Linked DNA regions of Homo sapiens: all the other regions are linked to region 1. The links are contacts of gene promoters, found by promoter capture Hi-C in human tissues and cell types (Jung and others, 2019). All regions are on one chromosome and are shown on one strand. The core of a region is centred on a gene start or on the middle of the fragment in contact, and the rest is flanking DNA. Distances in the headings are between cores, read along the strand shown.

Region 1 (4,159 bases), core at 1,049-3,548:
GAAACATGGTCTAGAAAAGAGCTTCCCAAGCCAGGGTTTCATGATTTGCCACCAACTGTACACTACTCGATGGGTTACCAAAATAACCAATGTGGGGAAACTTTTGTATGTTTTTGCTGCTTCTCGTTTCAATCTAGGGAATAGAAGTCTAGTTCTTCATCAAGTCTGATAATCCTCAGCGCTGAAGATGTTTTTATACTTTAAGATGACTTACAAACATGAAAATTTCACACAGCATCACAGCTTTCAAAAGGTTATTTCTAATTCATGGAGCAATCTATTAAAAACATTTTTTAGGGGGGAAGAGAAGTTGATTAATGGTTACAAATATACCATTTGATATAAGAAGACCTAGTGTTAGATTGGTAAACTAACTATATTTTACAATAACCTCTTGTATATTTCAAAATATCTAGAATTCCAGTGGTCTAGCATAGAGAAAAGACAAATCTTTAACGTGATGGATATCCCAAGTACAGTGATTTTGTCCGAGGCATGTGAACCAGAGCAACTCCATCTTGAATGGGGCCAGGTAAAACAAGGCTGAGTGAGACCTACTGGGCTGCATTCCCAGAAGGTTAAGGCATTCTAACTTACAGGATGAGATAGGATGTGGGCACAAGATACAGGTCATAAAGACCTTGCTGATAAAACAGGTCGCAGTAAAGAAGTCGGCTAAAACCCACCAAAACCAAAATGGCGACAAGAGTGACCTCTGGTCGTCCTCACTGATACACTCCCAGCAGCGCCAGGACAGTTTACACATGCCACGGCAACGTCCGGAAGTTACCCTATATGGTCTAAAAAGAGGAGACATGAATAATCCACCCCTTGTTTAGCATACCATCAAGAAATAACCATAAAAATGGGCAACCAGCAGCCCCAGGCTGCTCTGTCTATGGAGTGGCCATTCTTTTATTCCTCTACTTTCTTAATAAACTTGCTTTCACTTTACTGTGTGGACTCACCCTGAATTCTTTCTTGCGTGAGATCCAAGAACCCTCTCTTGGGGTCTGGACTGGGACCCCTTTCCTGTGCAATTTGATCTTTACAAATTATATGAATGTATTACATTATCACATGTGCCCCAGAACTATGTACATCATGCATCAACTAAAAAATGTTTAAAACAAAAATGTTTAACTCAGCAACTTCTATCTACACACCAGTCACCACAGTGCTTCTTGAGAACTGCCACCTCGTTTTCAAACCAAAAACCAGGACGCAAAATCTGTGCATGGGAAAAAAAAATATTTTACATGCAAACTACCCTGAAAAAAAAAAAAAAAAAAAAGAATAAGGTCGCCTCAATTCACTCTGGTGGGGAAAAAACAAAGGTTTTTACGAAAGCCCTGAATGCCTGAGTTCACAGCAGGCCCATGACGAAGTTTGTGTCTCACGCAGGTTTTCTCCTTTGGTGGGAGTTTATTGTGTATTACACCGAGGGCACGCTAGGTTTGCCAGTTTTTCGCTCATTCATTCAACAAACACTCGATGTCCACCTACTCCATTAACAGAGCCCTTCTCAGCCCTCGGGATGGACAAAAGATCCCGAAGAGGCCAAAGCCACGACGCCGCTGCCAGAGGACGTCAGCAGGTCCAGGAAACGACCTGATTTTAAGGACCAATGAAGGCAACGAGTAAGAGCGACGGCGCCCAGGAAAGCTGCAGCGGAAACTTGGGAAATGCCAGCCTTCGGGCGCAGAGGGCGGGGCAGGGCCTACTGGATCGCACTGTCTGCGGGCTGGGGCCCCGCCTGGGCTCCGGTCCCGCCGCCTCCGGCCGCCAAGCGGCGCCCGCCCACGGCCCGGCGGGGGCGTTGGCCTGGTCCCCGGCCCAGGAGGGCAGCGCCCGGGCGACCGCGAGCGGGCGGGGTGGCCTCGATGGCCCGCGAGCCCCGGGCTCAGTGTGGGGTGCGCGTCGCTCCTGCCCGACGTACCCGGGAAGCGCGCGCACGCATCGCCGCGCGCCCCACCGCGCCGGGCACCCGCGGCGCGCTCCCGCCCGGTCCCAGTGCCCCGGCCCCTCGGCCCCTACGGCACCCCCGGCTCCTACCGCCCGCCCGGCCGGCCTGGCCGCACTCACCCTCCTTGGCTTTCTTCCTCCGGGCCAGGGTCCCTCCGAGTTTCCCCAAGAAGGAATCATCTTTCTTGCGGGACGGGGGCGACTTGGGAGTGGGAGACTTGGGGACAGAAGGCGACTTCTGCGGGGAGGTGGCCATGGCGCGGCGCAGGCTGCCGCGGGCCGGTCGGGACGCGGAGCTGGCGCTGGGCGGACGCAGCGGGCGGCGGCGGGACTGAGGCTGCGGCTTTCCAAACGGAAGCGGAATTATTCCAAGCATTTGAGGCAGCTCACGCTCGCCTTTCCCTTCCCTCGCTCCCTCCCTCGCTCCCTCCCTCGCGCCGCCCTCTGCCCTGGAAGGAGCTGCGCTCCCGGGGCCGCGCCTTGCGCCCCTGGGTTGCCCCAAGCAGGGAGGATGCCCCAAAACTGCCCCTTGCAGGACAGGAGGACGTGTGTGCCCAGGTTGGGAGCGGTCGAGCCGGAAAGCTTCATTTACCCAGGCTCTGTCCCCACCACACAGCCTGGCGCAAAACACATCTGAGAACCAACCCAACCCTGCTACTCTCCCGGGGTCTTCCAGCCGGCGGCTGGTGAGCTCGCTCTGCCCCAGCACTACTGCCTGTGGGGTTATCAGGCCCACGTCTTGCGCCCACAAGACTGCAGCTCCTGGAAGAAATTATTGCAGTGAACCAAAATGTGTCCAGGCCCCACCAAAGTGGGCAGAACCAATCACTCCTGAACCTATCCATGACCGTCAACCTCCTCGTCTCTACTCCCATCCAAGACTGAGAAGCTTGGAGTGCACAAGGGTAAAGCCGAGGCTTCTTATTCTTGTAAGACATCCGTGTTTCCAGCAGCTTATACAAAGGAAGATCCCACGTGGTGGTGGAAACATGAATGGGAAAAGCACAACCATGAGCTCCTACAGGACTTCCCGCAAAATTTATCCTGCCTAAATAAAAGCAAGAGAGTGACAACCAGACTCATTTGAGATAACAGGGGAGTCATACAAAGCACAGTGTTTGAAGGACTCATACTGGAAATGATTAAAAGGCACGTGTTATTGAGCTTACCCATCTCAAGTTCTCACTCTGGCTCTTTGTCCTTCTGTCTGTCTCTCACACACAGACTCACAGCACCTTGGCAACTGTGTTTCCTCCTTGTGGCCCCTTCTAGGCCACAGCTGATTGAACCTGGGTGAACACCTAATCCAAAGGGCGCTACTGCTTTACTGAAGAGCAGACGATCAGCTGGCCCCAGTTAAGACTGCACTAAGCTGGAGAGACTGTTGTCAGAAGTTGTGCTCGTGACTGATGATCATTCGCAATCAAAACTAGGGTGGCTGTTTCTAGCCACGTGCATGCTGAGGAGTAGGGAAACCAAAGAATGGAGCAAAGAAGTGTGCTCAAGAAGCCACGTGGTCTGAGTAATGGAAACCGTGGGGAGTAGCTGCTTGGACCTTGAATCTTTTCCCAGACCCCACTTGCACTTCCTGCCAGGGCCAGCTGTGCTTCTTCCCAGGAGATGTTACTCAGCCTTTTATTAACCCATCCACAGTTCCTTAAACTAAATAAAGTGACAAGCAACAGTTTCTGAGTAGAACTAAAATTTAACAAAAAGATAGTCAACAGATTCTCAACACCGTATAGGTTCATTTTATCTTAAGAGTCTTAATTTTACCTTTTTTAAAAAAAAAAAAAATCTGCTTTAGTTGGTGCCTCTTACTTAACAGCAGAAAAGTCATGATGTCTGCTAGCCTGGGAAGATTACTACAACTCCTCCTAGACAATAAATCTTAAAGGGATGGTGAGAAGCCAAAATATAAGTGTGTTTTGATTACATCATTAATCATTTTTGTTCAGGATATCAGATATAGGACATCTCCAAAAGCGTATCTCCAGCCCCGAGAGCTCTTGTCAGGGAATTAAGAGACACGTAGCTCAATAGCGGTGTGATCTTGGAAAGGTTTACTCCCTTTTCTGAGTCTCCATTTCCTCATCTACAAAATGAAATGGTTGGCACAGAACAGTGGTTTTCAAACTCGATCGTGCATCACAGTCGCTTAGAAGTTTGTTGCATTCACAGGCCCCATCTCCAG
Region 2 (4,159 bases), core at 561-3,060, 490 kb before region 1:
TCCAGAGCCTGACGTGAATACATCTACTGCCTAAGATGTATTCCTGCCGAGCGGAGGGCACGGCGAAGACTTCCTTTCCTCTTAGTTTTGTCCCGAGTCATACACTCACCTAAACACACTCGAGAAGTGAACCAGAGGTGGCTTGGCCCATCTTCATGGGAAGATGGAGATGGCCCACAGTGTGGTGGTGCTTCCCAGACCTTGGCTGTGGCTACCGTGAGCTTCTGAAAACAGCAAGAAAGGACTGCCTTTTTGCTGCTAATGGGGAAAGAAGGACTCTGAGCAGGGTCTGAACAACTTCTTAGGGCAACTGAACATACAGGCAAAGAGACTCCTGCATGGAACTCTACAAAGAAACTCTGAGTAGGAAAAAGACTGCTTAACACATGGAGAATGCTTCTGCATTCTTTCTACATGCTGGGATAATAAATCCCTGGAGCTTAAAAAAACAGTTAATGACTTTTTCATGAATTAATGGTAAGTGAAACAATTCGAAGTAGAGAATAATTTCTAAGGCTGTGAGCTAATCCTCAGACATGCTGCTGCTTCTCACTACTCCACTGGAGACGCCAATAGGGGCTAAACTAAGGGAAAGGGTGAGATGGAAGACAACAGGTAAAGCTGGTGTTGGTGACACTGCTGTCGCTGCAGCTGGTGACACAAGGTCCAAGGGAGACCTCTAACTCAGCATCCTCAGGATTTTTAAATGGATATTCCATAGGCCTAGAAGCCTCTTTCACACTGCAACTGCATGGATTCATCTTCTACTTTAGAAGTAGACTCAGGCCCAGCTACAGGCTGTGGGTCATCTATAAAACCTACCCCCTTGAGAGCAGTGGGTCAAAAGGGTTTTGTCTGAGTAGGAGACAAACACATAGCACTCCCATCACTAAGAAACAACTCCTTCAAAGCTAAGCTCTCTTCTAGGCCTGCAGTTTGTACTCTAGCTTCTGTCCTAGACATTTTTTCTTTTTCTTTTTTTTGGAGACAGAGTCTCGCTCTGTTGCCCAGGCTGGGGTACAGCAGTACAATCTCGGCTCACTGCAACCTCCACCTCCCAAGTTCAAGCAACCCTCCTGCCCCAGCCTCCCAAGTAGCTATAACTGCCGGTGCACACTGCCATACCTGGCTAATTTTTTGTATTTTAGTAGAGACGGGGTTTCACCGTGTTGCCCAGGCTGGTCTCTAACTCCTGAGCTCAGGCAATCTGCCCATCTCGGCCTCCCGAAGTGCTAGGATTACAGGCGTGAGCCACCGTGCCCAGCCTTGTCCTAGATATTTTGAAAATGCCCCAACCCCGGGGGGGGCGGGGGAGAAAATCCCCACAACTCTGAATGTATAAATTTAATTTCCAAAATCACTGTGCTCTGGCCACAAATGCCTTTTTTTTTTTCTTTTTTCCATCTTACCGAGCTCTTGAATCTCAGCTTCAGTCTACTGACGCTTTGTCTCTACTCTCCCAGCTTCTCTGCTCCTGGTTCACTGTCTCCTCGCATTATTCCCTTTCTAGTTCAACCATCCCCTATATGTCCTGAACCTCGTATCTCTCCTCTGCAGTCAGGGTCTGTATCCAAGGTCACCAAATTGTTGGCCGAGTCTATCTTAAGCTGCTAAAAATTCCAGAGGAAAAGTCTCATGTTGGTGCCAATGGCTATTGCACAAATTCATGGTAGATAATTGGGCAAAAATCGGCTGGGCGCAGTGGCTCATGTCTGTAATCCCAGCACTTTGGGAGGCTGAGGCAGGCGCATCACTTGAGGTCAGGAGTTCGAGACCAGCCTGGCCAACATGGTGAAACCCCGTCTCTATTAAAAATACAAAAATTAGCTGAGTGTCGTGATGAGCGCCTGTAATCCCAGCTACTTGGGAGGCTGAGGCAGGAGAATCGCTTGAACCCGGGAGGCGGAGGTTGCAATGAGCCGAGATGGCGCCACTGCACTCCCGCCCGGGCGACAAAGCAAGACTCTGTCTCAAAAAAAAAAGAAAAAGAAAAAGACAATGGGCAAAAATCTAGGAGCAAAATGAGAAGAGAGAGCTTTCACTGGATTTGATTTTCTAAGGGAAGTAAGTGGCAAGAAAATACATTGTGGGTGGTAGGAAAGAAAGGAAGATTAATTTTGGTTGAAGACGGAGGGTGGGTAGAGGAAAAAGTACAGAATAATGTTTGCCACTTGATTTTTCATTAAAAAAAACTTATATAATGAAAATGATCAATTCCAGATAGTATAAACATGAGTGTTTAATATATTTTCTGTACTGTTTAAATTTTGCAACAAAAACTTCATAATTTTGATGCACACTCCTAGTCAATTACCATTACTTTAAGAGAACCCAATTTTAATAAGTTGATTTTTAAATGCTGCTATTGAAAATCTTTCTGAAAAGTTCTGGCACACAACACTTTTCAGACTTCATAAGGACAGAACTTATAATTTATTCTTTAAACACAATGAGTAGGAAAGACTACAGAGCAGGCAGAGAGCACCAAAGCAGGGAGCCAGCCAAGGATGAGTGCTAAGTGCCACGGAGCAGCCCCAGGGGGTGTGGGTTGGCCCCTGGTCCCAGCCTGTGACTCTCTTCCCCACTCTTAAAGCAGCCCAGGAATTAGCCTCCCTGACTCCAGCTTGGCCTCCCTCTTATTAGCTATCCTGCAAAACCTGGCTGGCGAGGTCTTTCCAGAGGGTAAATTTGAATGAACCCCATGTATGCCCCTAGGCCCACAGATGAATCCCTTCTCCTCAGTGGGATAATCGAGGGCCCTTCCCTTAGGCTCCTCCAGTCTTACCTCCCACCGCATGTCCCCAATTACATGATGCTCTTCATGGTCCCCCAGATAGTCCCAACTTTATGGAAATTCTCTGCCTTCAACTATGTTTAGTTCTAATGACACTTCTCCATGAAGCTTTAATTCCCTCACTCCCAGAATGAATCATTCTTTTCACTTGGGCAGCCTCTGCACTATCCTGTTTAATTTCTACTGCAGAGCCCCCTAGCTGTGGATATCTACTGGAAAAATAACAGAAAAGTTCAATGTTCCTCAAGAACAGAAACTCTGGATTCAATTCTATGTGCCCAACGTCTACAAAAGGACCTAGAACACACTTAGGTTCTCAATGAAAACCACTGGACTGAATTCAGTAATCATTCCTATGCTTTTCAAGTTCAAATCTACGTAGAAATCTTAGACTTTCACTAGAACAATTTTTTTCTTTACTAAAATTTAAGTCTACACAATTTGGGGGTGATCTAGTCCACAAACAAGCACATTGAGAACAACTGCCAATTAGTAGAAGCATAAAGCTGACCTTTAGAATTTATTCTAACGGATTTTCAGGAGAGTAACTTTTGTAGCTAGGATGACTCATCTATCAATGTGACATCAAATGACCACTCTCTCCTGGAGTCTGTTTTCTTCCTAGGAACATGGCAGAACTTCAAAACTACAGAATTTAAAAACATGGGCTTTAAATGGGACACAGGAGCTCTCTGTAAAGGCTGGAAGGGACAGCATAAGAGGTAGACACCTCCTTTTCCTTCTGCCTAAAACAGGGGGCTTTTCAAACCTGATTCAATGGAATAGCCTAAGAGGCCATTACTAAGGATTTGAGGGAGTAAGCTTCAATTCAAAACATGAGTTTTGCTACTTTAAAAAGGCTGGAAAACACCAGCCCAAAGAACTCTGCCACACCCTTCCCTGGAAAGTAAAGAGAAGCTTATAAGCAAGAAGACTCACCAGGAAGACACATCTGGCAGTGGCCTCCATTGCGGGTAAGCCACTTTTCCAACTCCACAGAGGGACAGACAAATGCAAGTCTGGTTTCGGTCTTCACATGAGGACCATAGACCTTTGTCTACCCCTTCGACGTCTGAGTTTGTGGAGAAGTGGTAACCAACCTGGCTAGGGCAGTGTCTGCAAGGATAGTTACTGGGATGGTCAGCCACCAGCCACCTGCTCCAGGAGGCCTTCCTACATCTTCCCAGGCAAAGCACAGTGTCTCTTTTAAGCTTGGATACTTCCTGCCACTCCCCTCTGCTCCCCACCCACCCAGAAGCTATCCTTGTTGTCTTTTGGGATGACCTCAATTATCTGTAGCGAGTTTATCTCACTAGCTAGTGTGGGAGGCCAAGAAGACCATGGCTATCAGCCTGACCCCATGAT
Region 3 (4,159 bases), core at 594-3,093, 460 kb before region 1:
AGGATGCATGATCTTTTCCAATCTGAGGGGATCTATAGATCTGACAACATTACCTACCCTTAGAGCTGGGCTCGGACTCCTTGTGAACACAGATTTGGCAGAGCAAGATCTATGTGCACCCTCCCAAGACCAAGAAAGGGCCTGACTTGGCTCAAATCCAACAATGAGACAATAGAGGCTGCCAGGCATGATGGATGACTTAAAGGACTTAAAACCACCATTTGCATCCTCCCAGATAAACAATTAGCTAGAAAAAAAATTTTTTTTTTCCTGGAAGCAACTTCCAATGCTGTTACTCTGCCTAGCAGAATAGAGTTAGTTTAGTGAAATTAGAACAAAATTTGAAAATGTCTCAGACAAATGTTCTTAAAGTATCTCACTGGAATTAGAAGAAATAAACCATTCATTTTAGATTTTTTAAGTTTAGAATTTTAAAAGTTAGAAAAGGCTTTGATGCTTATAACTCTCTTAAAGTTAGTGTCAGAAGGTTTTCAATATATTTACTTAGTTCATTTTTGTATTCCTTCTTCCTTCATTTGAAATCCATGTAATTCTTAAAGGCAGCATAATAAAAAAAAATTCACTTATTGGACAAGGCAGGCAGGCATAAACACGATTTAAGCATGAAAAAAAGGAAACGGCCTTCAGACATGCTTGCCAGATAAAAATCAGTGGTTCTGAACCTGCATACAAGCAATTTTCTGGAGCTCATGAAGACCCAGGAGAGAATGCTTGAGAAACGACAGAGAAATCTCTTAAAAGTCACCCTGCATTTCTCTAGAATGAATTTACAGGACAGGCTAAGAGTATCTCCGGAAGTTCACCAAGCCTCCATTAATAAATGAGGCAGCAGTGTGGTTTCCGTGGCAACAGACTCCTAACTCCCGCAAGCTTAGTGCACAACTGCCAAAGATTTCTCCTCAAATCTCAACTTCCTGTTTCCAGGTACTGACAAAACCAAACATACTTTTAAGCCCAGGGAAACAGCAACAGTGTAAGGGTTTTCAATAGGTATTCTCGTAACGGTGGTTTGGTCAAAAGTGAGGTGGACTAGGCAGCTCCATCTTGCTGCAGAGATTTGGAGAACACTTTTAAAGGGAGCTAAGAGCCCCCTGAGAACGTTCAGTGAGTTAAATACATTTGCTGTAATATTATAATGTGTTATGACAAGCTATATATCATTATAATAGGTTCCCATGATTCACATTTGCCTGTTTTGTTTTGTTTTGTTTTGTTTTTTTCCTCTGCTCTGTGGAAATGATTTGGGGGTTTGGGTAAGCTTGATTCAGAATTCGGCACATGAGGAAAGCCGACTACATTTCTTTAACATATGTAACCTTGAGGTTTATAGGAGAGGTCACGATACATTTTAAAAGAGACCTTCCCAGACTATTTCATATGAACGGGTAAGTGTGGAAAAGTACAGACGCTAGGAGTCTGCCATTAGCAGTCACTGACTCTAGGTAAAGTTATCAGCCTTTGTGAGCCTCAGTTTCCCCAAAGGTCTCATACCCTATAATGCTATGATACCACGATAAGCCCTAGCTACTTTTACATTCCTTCCAAACACATGCAGAGAACACCAGAAAGCACTAGTGTGCTTCGATTCTCCATCTCCCATTTCCCTCTAAACACTGAAGGAGCTAAGCTACCAGGGTGCAAACTGAAGGAAGATGGCATATCTCCCAAAAAATGCAAGTAGCTGAAAGAAGGGCAGCTACCATGACAGCAGCCTGGAGGGGGAATGTGGAGGGATTCTCAGAAAAGCCAGAGAGAATTCTAAACCAACCCCTCCAAGAACAGCATGAAACCGACATTCCCCATTGAGTTTCCCTTGGAGAAAAATAATCGAGAAAAACTGTACTTATTCTTTATGCTAAGGCAGCGAACACACTTCCTAACCAGCATCCATCCCCACCATCTCAGGAGCTGCACTCACAGCAGACAGAGACTCTCTTAAGCCAGTAGCTTGCTAAGCACCGATTATAGGCATGGCCTGGTGGGGACAGCTAAGAAGACCAAAGGAGGGAAAAAAGACAGCTCTTCTGTACCCACTGAGCTTACATTCTATCCATGGTGTATAAGAGACGCAGGTAGGAAAAGAGGCAGAGCCACAGAGGCTACATATTTTTCAGGATTTCCCTTTTAAATTCTGTTCCTTTTCCCCTTTCACCTATGAATAAATCTGGGTCTGTGTCCCTCTCTGCATCCATAAAATAATGTAACTTCCCACATGACTCACACATGCACTGCCCTTAGCGTATTTTCATGTTAAAAGGCTTTAGCAGACAGTAACAAATTCCTGACAGCTACAACTGATAACTTGAGATGAGAAAAAGTATTCCATTTCAATTTTCAGACAGGTCTGGCTTGGGAACAAACCAGCTGAAGGACAGGGAGGGCAAATTTCCAGTACAACTCTCCCTATAAAAGCAATAAAGTTACTACCAATGGAGAGCAATCAAATATCCACCAGAACTCTGAAAGCCACTGGGTATCTCATCCCACTCCACTCACAGGGGCCCGTGCAGAAAGCCACCATTTGCATATAAACTTCCCTATGAAGTCTATGCCTTAGTTTTTCTACCTCAGAGAAAAATGAGAGGCTTCTGATAGGAATGGGGCCCCTTCAGCCTCGAGAGAAGATCTGCAGAGTTGGGAATATCTATTAACATAGACGGCACTTCCAAACTGCAGGAAGAGCACACAGCCGAACCCCAGACCTAGGCCCCCAGGCTAAGACACGGCCATTTATTTCGTGAAAGTGAAAATGAGTAAAAGTTAAGTGAAAGACTATTACGCAGAAACGATCAACCCCAGTACATGAATTTGGACTGACCTCTTTACAATTTAATTATAGGAGGTTATATTTACCAGCACAACACTGAATATGGCCTCTTAACTCTCACAAGCTTCTCATGGCTTCTTCTGACTCCCCATCCTTACACAACCATTCCATAGTGAAAACATCCATCTCTCAGACTCATCCACCTTCCACCCTTCTTGCCTTGGCCCGATTTCGTTTCTGGTCTTTTTTTTTTCTTTTTTTTTTTTTTTTGAGGCAGAGTCTCGCTCTGTCGCCCAGGCTGGAGTGCAGTGGCGCGATCCAGGCTCACTGCAAGCTCCGCCTCCCGGGTTCACGCCATTCTTCTGCCTCAGCCTCCCAAGTAGCTGGGACTACAGGCGCCCGCCACCACACCTGGCTAATTTTTTGTATTTTTAGTAGAGACGGGATTTCACCATGTTAGCCAGGATGGTCTTGATCTCCTGACCTCATGATTCACCCGCCTCGGCCTCCCAAAGTGCTTGGATTACAGGCGTGAACCACCGCGCCAGGCCCGTTTCTGGTCTCTTAAAGCTGCCTCCGAACTGTTTTCCTTACTTTCCATCTGTTCCCACTCTCACCCTTCCTTAAGGCTACAACCAGAAGGATCTTTCTTAGATTAATGAGTCTTACCACATTACCTTCAATGTGGGCTTTCTATCATATAGTCCCCTACTACACCTAGAATGCCAACTCTTGTTGCTGCCTGCAAATTTCTATTCATCTTTTAATATCCAACTGAAACAAACCCTTCCATTACGCGAAGTTAGTGATTCCCTGGTCGTGCTCCTTACGTTCTGAACCTGCTCTGATAACCCCCGCCACATTCTGGCATCACTTCTTTCCCAACCAACATCTCTACTACTCCCTAAAGTACTACTACACGGCAGGAGCTTTATCCTGTAATTTCTGTTACCTCAGTCCCCAGGACACAGCCTAGCACCTGGGACATAATAACTGTTAACTGAATGGACAGGCCAGAAACATGTGGACAGAGTGGATGCAGTATTTCTTTCTGAAGCTCGTGATCTTCAAAAAGAGCTTTGTTTTTTGTTTGTTTGTTTTGTTTTGAGACAGAATCTCACTCTGTCACCGAGGCTGGAGTACAGTGTCACGCTCTTGACTCACTGCAGCCTCCACTTCCCAGGTTCAAGCAATTCTCCTGTCTCAGCCTCCCGAGCAGCTGGGACTACAGGCGTGCATTACCACACCCGGCTAATTTTTGTATTTTTAGTAGAGACGGTGTTTCACTATGTTAGCCAGGCTGGTCTCAAACTCCTGACCTCAGGTGATCCACTGGCCTCTGCCTCCCAAAGTGCTAAGATTATAGGCGTA
Region 4 (4,159 bases), core at 875-3,374, 410 kb before region 1:
AAACCTCCAAAGACCAAGATCTGTAAGTTCCCGGAACCTAAAGTCATGTGGGCCATAGGACCAGGACGGTAGGGGATGAGGGAATATCACCTGGCATAGGAATAAGAATTGAGCCAAAAGTGAAGGCACAGGAAGGAAGATTATATATCCTGGTTTGCCTAAGGTTTATTTCTGTTTTCCTGGTGTCATTGTTAACATTGCCCCCATTTATTCTCTGAAGTGTCGTAGTCTGAACATTAAATGATATGGTCATTATAGGCACCAGCCAAACTGGGAACAACCTCTGTGCCCTGGAACCCAGGACCTGTGGGACAGGAGGAAAGAGCCATGCAGGAGCAGCTGCAACCAAGCTGGGCCAACTCGCCCTCAGAACTGGAACCGGGAAAAGGGCATCTCTGGGCAGCAGCTTCCAATCTGAAAACTGAGGAGGCTGGGCTGATCTCTCCAGATCCCTCCAGCTCTGTGTCTAAGAGAGCAGCTGGGAAGTTACTTGTCCTACTCTCCTACCCCCACTTACCCAGAGCACATGCAGGCCCACACGTTCCCCACGGCTCCCAGGCACAGGCCACCAGGAGCCCGGGCCCTGGCTCAGAAACATCCTCACATTAGGGTGTCAAATGACTGAAGAGTCAGTCTTTGATCTGACACAGAGAGAGGGCAGGGCTTGCTGCATCTGGCAGGTCATGCCTACCATCTCTGGGTTTTCTCCAGTCTTCTCCACACTCATGCTGACCCCAAGAGAGCAAGCTGGAGCAGATTTCAAAAGGGAGCTGATTCTCCAGGATCCCCTCACCCTGCACTTCTCAAGCGATAGGAGCTACAGTTAACATGGGTGGCTAAAGCCTTGCAACTGAAACTCCAAACGGAGCTCAGCAACACTCCCAGGGAGGCTGGGAAGAAGGAGATCACACATGGAGCGTAGGCCAGCTTTGACTTAAGGAAAGGGAAGGAGGAACTAGGATCCTGGGCTGACCCATTAACTCACCCTAGGGGGCCACAGAAAGGAACATGCCAAGACATCAGCACCCCTGGAACTTGCAAGAAAATCATCTGCTTCCATCAACACACCACCAGGAGACAAATACTTCAGCACACTTAGTAAACATACGTGAATTCAGACTCCCCTGCTCCTGCATCTGTAAGGTTTCATATGACATGGAAGATGCTTACTCAAGACAATGACTCTTAATGCTTCCAATGGATTCTATCCTAGCCTTTCTTCCTTTCTGTCCTTTCCCTCTGTCTCCTAGACAAGCTTATCCACTTCCAGGGTCTCAACTCCAAACCCTGTGATGATGTTTTCCAAACTGTTCTCAAATCCAGAATGCTGAATTGCCCAGTGCCTGCTGGCGCCCTCCCCATGAAGTGCCCCAAAGCACTGCAAACTCCATACAACTCAAAACTCATTACCCCAACTCTGGCCCTTACAACTTGTCTCCCCTGCTGTACAACTGTGTCTATAAATGGCACTGCCATCCATGCAGATGAAAAATCTTCATCTTCTCCCTCATCAGAAAACCCTACAGAGCCCTCTCATCTCTAATACACCTAATCTAAATGCCTAATCTCTAATATACTGATGTAAAATGTCCTTCCCATCCATCCCCTCCTTGTCACTCCCATAACCTCTGACCTAGTTCAAGCCCTCCTCATCTCCTACCAGAAGTGTTGTAGTGTCAGCCTCCTTATGGGAGATAGAGCCTCCAGAATAATTCTCCTCAAACACTTGTTGAATATCCTAAAAACAAGGGCTCCCATCCCCCCTTCCTGTGTATATGCTGCATACACAGAAAAGTTGAGAACCTCTAATCTTACTGTTCGAACATCCTTGCCTGGCACTTCACTCCCGTAACCTCTCAGCTTACAAGCCACCCCACACTCCATCCACCCTTCTAGACATCCCACATGCTTACCAGCCTCCTTACTACTCCTGAAAACACTGTATTTTCACATCTCTCTGCCTTCAGCTTTCTCTCTCTTCCACTTTGTCCATCCCTGAGGGAAAATTCAGCCTAGTGGTTAAGACTGTGAGCTGTCTTAGCAATCAGACATGGAAGGTTTCTTGGAATCACAGCTCCACCACGCAGTAGCCATTCGACCTTGAGTGTCAGTGTGTGACCTAAACATCTGAGAAGCAACTCACCAGGTTTCCCCCAAAACTGAAATGGGAAATTCCCTCCACAGGTATATCCTTGAAAAAAACACTGTGAGAGGTGTTCACAAATAAATGCATCTTAGCAGAGAACCTTCCTCCCTATTGGCACGTGTCTTCCAAGTTCTAAAGGAGGAACCACTGTTAAGTAGCACAGGGCATCCACAGCGCCAACTGCAAAGCTTTTACCAGAACTAACTTCCAGAGCATGAGGGCTAGGCTCTAGCCATCTCCTGTAGGGAGGCTCAAACATTCAGGCCCAAAGACACCCTGCAAAAATCAAAGCTGGTCAGCCATGGGCTGACTGTGGGAAGATAAGTTCCCCCAGACACTGCCTTAAAAAAAAAAAAAAAAAAAAGGCACAAAAACTAAAACTCTGGCCTTTGTCATACAGTGATTTAAAAAGAAAGTGCGCGCACACACACACACACACACACACACACACACACACAAACCCTTACCTGGTTTAGTGACTTCTAGACACAAAAACTCTGGCTTTTATCACACTGACGGTGATTACTCTTTTGTGAAGAAGATACTGTTTAGTGACATCTGGATCCCCAGACCCAAGTTCAACCACATTTTAAGGGTAACTACATTCAGGTTTACTAGACACTTTTAGGGTATCAGGCTCTTGCACCACATAACTTCATTCACCTTCTCCAAAAGCAGCACTCAGCTCCTACCATACGGCTGCCACAGATTCAGTCACCTTCTCCCTCACCTGGTATCTGAGTTAACTTGTATGTTCATCTACTCTCTCAGCATTTTCCTTTCTTTCCATCTTTGCTACTATAAACGTGCTCTGCACATGAAGTCAGAGAGTTACTATTACATTGGTAGCTAACATTTACCAATTTATCAAGGCCAAGCATGATGCTGAGCATATACACTGATACTACCTTTATTGTGATATAATTCATATTTCATACAGCTCACCCATTTTAAGTGTACAATTCAAGTTTTTACTACATTCACAGAGTTGTGTAAGCATTACCGTAACTAGTTTTAGAACATCTTAATCACCCCAGAAAGAACTCCATACCCATTTGCAGTTACTCCCTATTTTCTCTCAAATCCTCCAGTCTCAGGTAACCACTAATCTGCTTCCTGCTTCTGTAGACTGACCTATTCCGGGCATTTCGTATGATTCATATGATTCCATGTATAAATGGAATCGTACAATATGTGGTCTTTCATGAATCTTCTTTTCATTTAGCACAGTTTTCAAGTGTCATCCATATTGTGGTACATATTAAGACTTCATTCCTTTTTATTGCCAAATAATATTCCATTGTATAGCTATTACCACATTTTATTTACGCAGTCATCAGCTGATAAACATTTGGGTTGTTTCCACTTTCTGATTATTAGAAATAATGCTGCTATAAATATCCATGTACAAGTTTGTTTTGTTTTTTGAGACAGGCTGGAGTGCCGTGGGGAGATCTCTGCTCACTGCAACCTCCACCTCCCAGGCTCAGGTGATCCTCCCACCTCAGCCAGCTGAGTAGCAGGGGCTACAGGTGTGCACTACCACGCTTGGCTAATTTTTTTTTTCTTTTTCTTTTTTTCTTTCTTTTTTTTTTTTTTTTTTTTGTACAGACGAGGTTTCACCATGTTGCCCAGGCTGGATTCTAACTCCTAGACTCACACGATCTGCCCACCTAGGCCTCTCAAAGTGCTGGGAGCCAACACACCTACCCCTAATGTACAAGTGTTTGTATGGACATCTGTTTTCATTTCTTTTGGGTCCTATAATAACTCTATGGTGAGTCTTTTAAAGAACTTCCAGACTGTTTCCAGAGTGGTTATGCCATCTTTATAAACCCACCAGTGACCTGTGAGGGTTCCCATTTCTCTACATCCTCCCTAACACTTGTTATTGTCTGTTTTTTTTTTTTTAATGATAGCCATCCTAAGAGATATAAAGTGATATCGCAGTGTAGTTTTAATTTGCATTTCCCTGCTAGCTAATGGTTTTGAGCATCTTTGGTGTGTTTTTCA
Region 5 (4,159 bases), core at 582-3,081, 330 kb before region 1:
CTTCTGTAAAATGATGTACATTCCTCTCTTCAGAAAGAAGCAAGAGCTGGACAATAGTTGGGGAACGTCAGGAGTGGCACGCCAGGCAGATGCCGGTGGAAGCAAAGGCACAGAGGCAAAAAGGCTGCTGCAAGTGGCTGAGACAGAAGAACATGGTTGACTGGCCAGGAGGCTGGAAGAGAGAACCAAGACTTTCTCAGCTGTACAGTTACTATGACTGGGGTGAACTGGCCTCAGACACTTCAACTCTGTCTAACTTCTCAGAAGGAAAACAGTGGCCCCTCCGGCAAATTTCACATACCAAACTGAACGGCTAAGATGCATTCTTCCTGTGCTTGGCAGAAGGCTTGTCTAATACATTCGTCATCTTCCTCTAGCCTAGGTATATGGAGGGGAGCTCCCAACACAAACCAAACACAACGCCAACTCAGCCATAAAAAGAAAATAAACATAACCATAAAAAGAAATAAATATATGTATCTCTGACTTGGTAGGAGTCTAGTTCTTCTAACATAACTTTTTCCATGTTCTAAAATCCATGCTGTTTTTTAAAAGCACATCCAGGGCCATTCTGCTTCTAGGGAATTTAGGGTTTTAGCCAATTTGCTTAGAAAATGGTTGTGCAAATTTACACTACCCCATGAGCCTGTGTTTTATAAAAAGAGGTGAGGGGGATCTCCAACTATAGCAGGGAAGAATTTTAATAAAAAGCAGAACTCAAGAGCACAGGCAATAGATGGCTGCTCCTGCAGGTCAATTCATGCTGGGCACCACTCACCAAGCTTTCCAAGGGATGCAATAACTGAATTCCAGTGGCCCCAAATTCACTCATTCCAATGGATATATCCTGAGGGTCTATTATAAACAAAGCACTGAGAATATAAAGATGTGCAAGTCACAGCCTGTATCCCGCAAGGGCTCAGAGTTTAGGAGGAAGAAGAACAACAACGAAGGATGATGGTGAAAGTGGCTGTAAGACACTTATGGGCTAAAGAAAGCAAAGATCCCTCCAGGTAAAGGAGGGAGGAACTCCAAGACAACTTCCTAAAGGAGGTGCTTTAAGAAAATATAGGGAGGCTTGGGCAGGCAAAACAAATGGAAAAGGTCATCCCCATTTCTGAGCACTTGCTATGTGTCACTCATATCTCACAACCAACCAGTGTTATGATAATATCTCCACGTACCGAGCAGGGGAGTCCAGCTAGGGGAGGTGGATTGACTCATCCTATGTTACATGTATTGTCAGTGGCAGAGCCAAAAACCAAAGCCCCCATCCTCTGCTAAGGGAAGCTTTTTTGGGAGAGAGAATGTTATGAGTAGGGCAGCACATTTAGGAAGTGACAAAGATTCCATCTGTGGGATGCTATGCTCCACTGATACTGAGACCACACTGTGGGAGGTCTCAAGCACCAGGCTAAGGGGAATGCGCTCATTGGTTGGGTGATGAAGCAGGTAGGGAGGAGGCTTTGAGAATGGGAGCCCCAGGATAAGATGTAGTGGCTCAGAACAAGTAACCTGGAGCCGGCAGGCCTGGGCTTGAATCCCAGCTGTGGCTCCTAAGAACTGTGCAGTTTTGGACAAGGTACTTAACTTCTCTGTGCCTCCAGTTCCTCATTAAATGAGGCTGATATTACTACCTCCTTCACAGAATTATTGTGAAAATTAAATGAATCACAAAGCAATAAGAACAGTGCCAGTTCACAAGAATGGCTATGTAAGTGCATTATCGGATAATGATGGTGATGATGATGCAGCAAATTAATTAACCTGCTGAGACACAATGGCATTGGAAGATTACCTGAGAGGCTGCCAGAGTAATCCGGGCGAGAGAAGGACGGAAGTAGCTTCCAGGGAATGGGAAGGAAGTAACTGATTTGGGAGAACATGGAAGGGAAAGGGAAATGTTTCACGGAAGCCTGCAGCCTGAAGAAAGGCAGTGCTGCTGGAGGAGCCGCTCAGCCACAAAAGCACTCAGTGAAGACAGAAATGCACACCCAGGTGCATTTCTCTGAGCCTCAATTCTTCTATCTCTAAAATGGGGCTAACGATTCTTATCCTTCTACTCTCGGCATTGTCCTGAGGCTCAAATAAGACCATGAACTTGGCTACGGTACATTTAAGACATAAAGCATTCTACAGATGGAAGTCATGAAGCTATAAAGAGGGAGTGGTGTCGAGGGACTGGTCTGGACAGTGAGCCAGAGAGACAAACTCCACTTAACGTTGTCCACGATGTTCTCAGATAGTAACACGCAGGGTCAATTTCCAACATTCTTACCCTGCACCGCTGTGGCCTGATACCAGCCTAGGACCACTGACACCTGAGCCTGCCATGGCACCAAGGGTTGAATGCAGAGAGGATCTGGTTCAAGGGGCGGCCCCTGAGTGCTGAGAGGGAAACTGACCATTTCTGGGCACACCATGGATAAAGGGAGTACACAGAAAAGTAACATCAGTTGGCTCTATCTCCTTCAGCTCTCCATTTACACAGTCTGTGAGCAGATCAAAGGGCCCTGGAGCCAGCCAGAGAGGGCTGGGGATGAGACAAGCAGCCTGCGAGTGCTGTGGCAGGCAGCTCTGCATCAGTTTGCCTTCGGCTATAACCAAATGACATTTCCTGCATAATCCTGCCACTCTTTGGATAGAATTTCTTATAGAAAGTCATCTTTTTTATGCCCAGTGTAGTCCAGGAGATCATAATGACCAGCAGCTTCTATTCCCTATATAATTTTTATTTATTTTAGCTTCAAAAGGAACTCAGGACTCCCAGCTCTAAGTCTCTTAAAGTCTCTTATCTGGTGAGCCCCACACCTCCCGTACATCACTCACCATTTTAGACTGGAATGGTCCCCTTAACACAACTCCCTTTTCCCACTAGCCTGCAGTTTTTCTTCTCTGAATCCCCACCACCCAACACAGACACTCGCAAACAATGAACTGAAATTTCATAGCATCTTTTGGAAACTAAAGACAGTGAAAACCCACCGGCATGACCCTTCCGATTACTCAACTTTCCCCTTCACTCAGGTAAGACTTCAAGATAACAGCATCTCCTTTAATTAAGCCTACCCTGCTTGGTTTTCCAAAACTCCAATTTCCAAGATCAAAAGAAAGGCAAAATTTAGGCTTGACGTCTAAGTTTTTGTTTTGTTGTTTGCTACAGGTTCTGGAAAAGTAAAAGCCCTAATCACCCCCAACATATAGTGACTAAAATTTAAGACACTCCAGAATAGTGCCTTTTCCCTTCAACCAACTTTTTTGGCTGACTTTCAATAGTTTTAAAGCTGATAACCAGAGGAAGCCTTTATTTAAAGAAAGAAAAAAAAAATCTAAGTAAACAGTTCCCAGTGTTCTCTAAGAAATTAGACTCTAAGAACACAATCTGTCCACACAAGGATAAATGCAGTTTTATTAAAGAAAACACAACGGTCTTACAAACACTCTCCAAATATTGTACACTGTACACATGAAGAATCAAACACAAAATTCAAAGGGGTCCCAGAGGGGGTCTGCTATGGCTTTGCTCAAAATCTAAACTCTAAAGCATGACTGTGCTAGAGCAGAGGAGACTCTGTGCTTTGTCTTTCCCAAAATAATCTCTCTCACCGACCATCACAGCGAGCTAAGGGGAGGACCACAAAATCTGCAGTGGAGCGACTGTGATCGTTCTCAAAACAATTTTTATTGAAGAAGCAGTCGACTGAACTACTTATAATCTACAAAATCAAGTCACTTGGCACCAGATGCATTAAAGGCCTCAAATATTAGGGGAGTTTCATTTTACACCAAATATAAAACTGAAATAAATTAGGAAGCAAAAGCAACAGTATTATAAATAACTGACCAACTCCATTCAAATATCCCACACTTCTCATACCACGGTGAGGGAAAATAAATGAGAGTTAAGAAGCATAATTTCTAGAAATCCTCCTATCATAGAAAAAAAAGTTTCTAAGATCAATGTGGCTTTTAAAAGGGTAGCAGAAACTAAAATATACGCAAAACTCGTTTCCACTGCACCCCACAGGTATAACATCATTTTTTAATTTATAATTTTAGAATGTACTGTATGTTTATGATTTGGTTTCTCTTATTATTTAAACCTTGAGTACCTGGTGAAGAGTTATAAAAATGAATGAAGAGTCTATTCCTGTCCATA

What was found. The method cuts DNA at HindIII sites, captures the fragments that hold promoters and counts their contacts. A contact is called where the count stands out against the background at its distance.
Region 2: a contact is called between a fragment that was not itself captured here and the fragment with the promoter of PARVA in region 1, in 1 of the 25 tissues and cell types used here (dorsolateral prefrontal cortex).
Region 3: a fragment that was not itself captured here is called in contact with the fragment with the promoter of PARVA in region 1 in 2 of the 25 tissues and cell types used here (dorsolateral prefrontal cortex and mesenchymal stem cells).
Region 4: a fragment that was not itself captured here is called in contact with the fragment with the promoter of PARVA in region 1 in 1 of the 25 tissues and cell types used here (dorsolateral prefrontal cortex).
Region 5: a fragment that was not itself captured here is called in contact with the fragment with the promoter of PARVA in region 1 in 1 of the 25 tissues and cell types used here (liver).

The regions. Positions count from the first base shown.
Region 1 is chr11:12,375,710-12,379,868 of GRCh38, reverse strand. It overlaps PARVA (parvin alpha), which reads right to left and starts at 2,298. Exons shown (of 13, transcript NM_018222.5): 1 at 2,086-2,298. The coding sequence starts at 2,221. The HindIII fragment of the contact is 6,514 bases long and covers 1-3,804 here.
Region 2 is chr11:12,867,711-12,871,869 of GRCh38, reverse strand. All of the region lies in intron 5 of TEAD1 (TEA domain transcription factor 1), which reads right to left. Among named protein-coding and RNA genes, the nearest start is that of TEAD1-AS1, 53 kb to the left of the region's middle. The HindIII fragment of the contact is 7,003 bases long and covers 1-4,159 here.
Region 3 is chr11:12,839,146-12,843,304 of GRCh38, reverse strand. All of the region lies in intron 3 of TEAD1 (TEA domain transcription factor 1), which reads right to left. Among named protein-coding and RNA genes, the nearest start is that of TEAD1-AS1, 82 kb to the left of the region's middle. The HindIII fragment of the contact is 3,640 bases long and covers 24-3,663 here.
Region 4 is chr11:12,781,544-12,785,702 of GRCh38, reverse strand. The region is part of intron 3 of TEAD1 (TEA domain transcription factor 1); the gene reads right to left. Among named protein-coding and RNA genes, the nearest start is that of TEAD1, 110 kb to the right of the region's middle. The HindIII fragment of the contact is 4,708 bases long and covers 1-4,159 here.
Region 5 is chr11:12,700,388-12,704,546 of GRCh38, reverse strand. All of the region lies in intron 2 of TEAD1 (TEA domain transcription factor 1), which reads right to left. Among named protein-coding and RNA genes, the nearest start is that of TEAD1, 28 kb to the right of the region's middle. The HindIII fragment of the contact is 3,590 bases long and covers 37-3,626 here.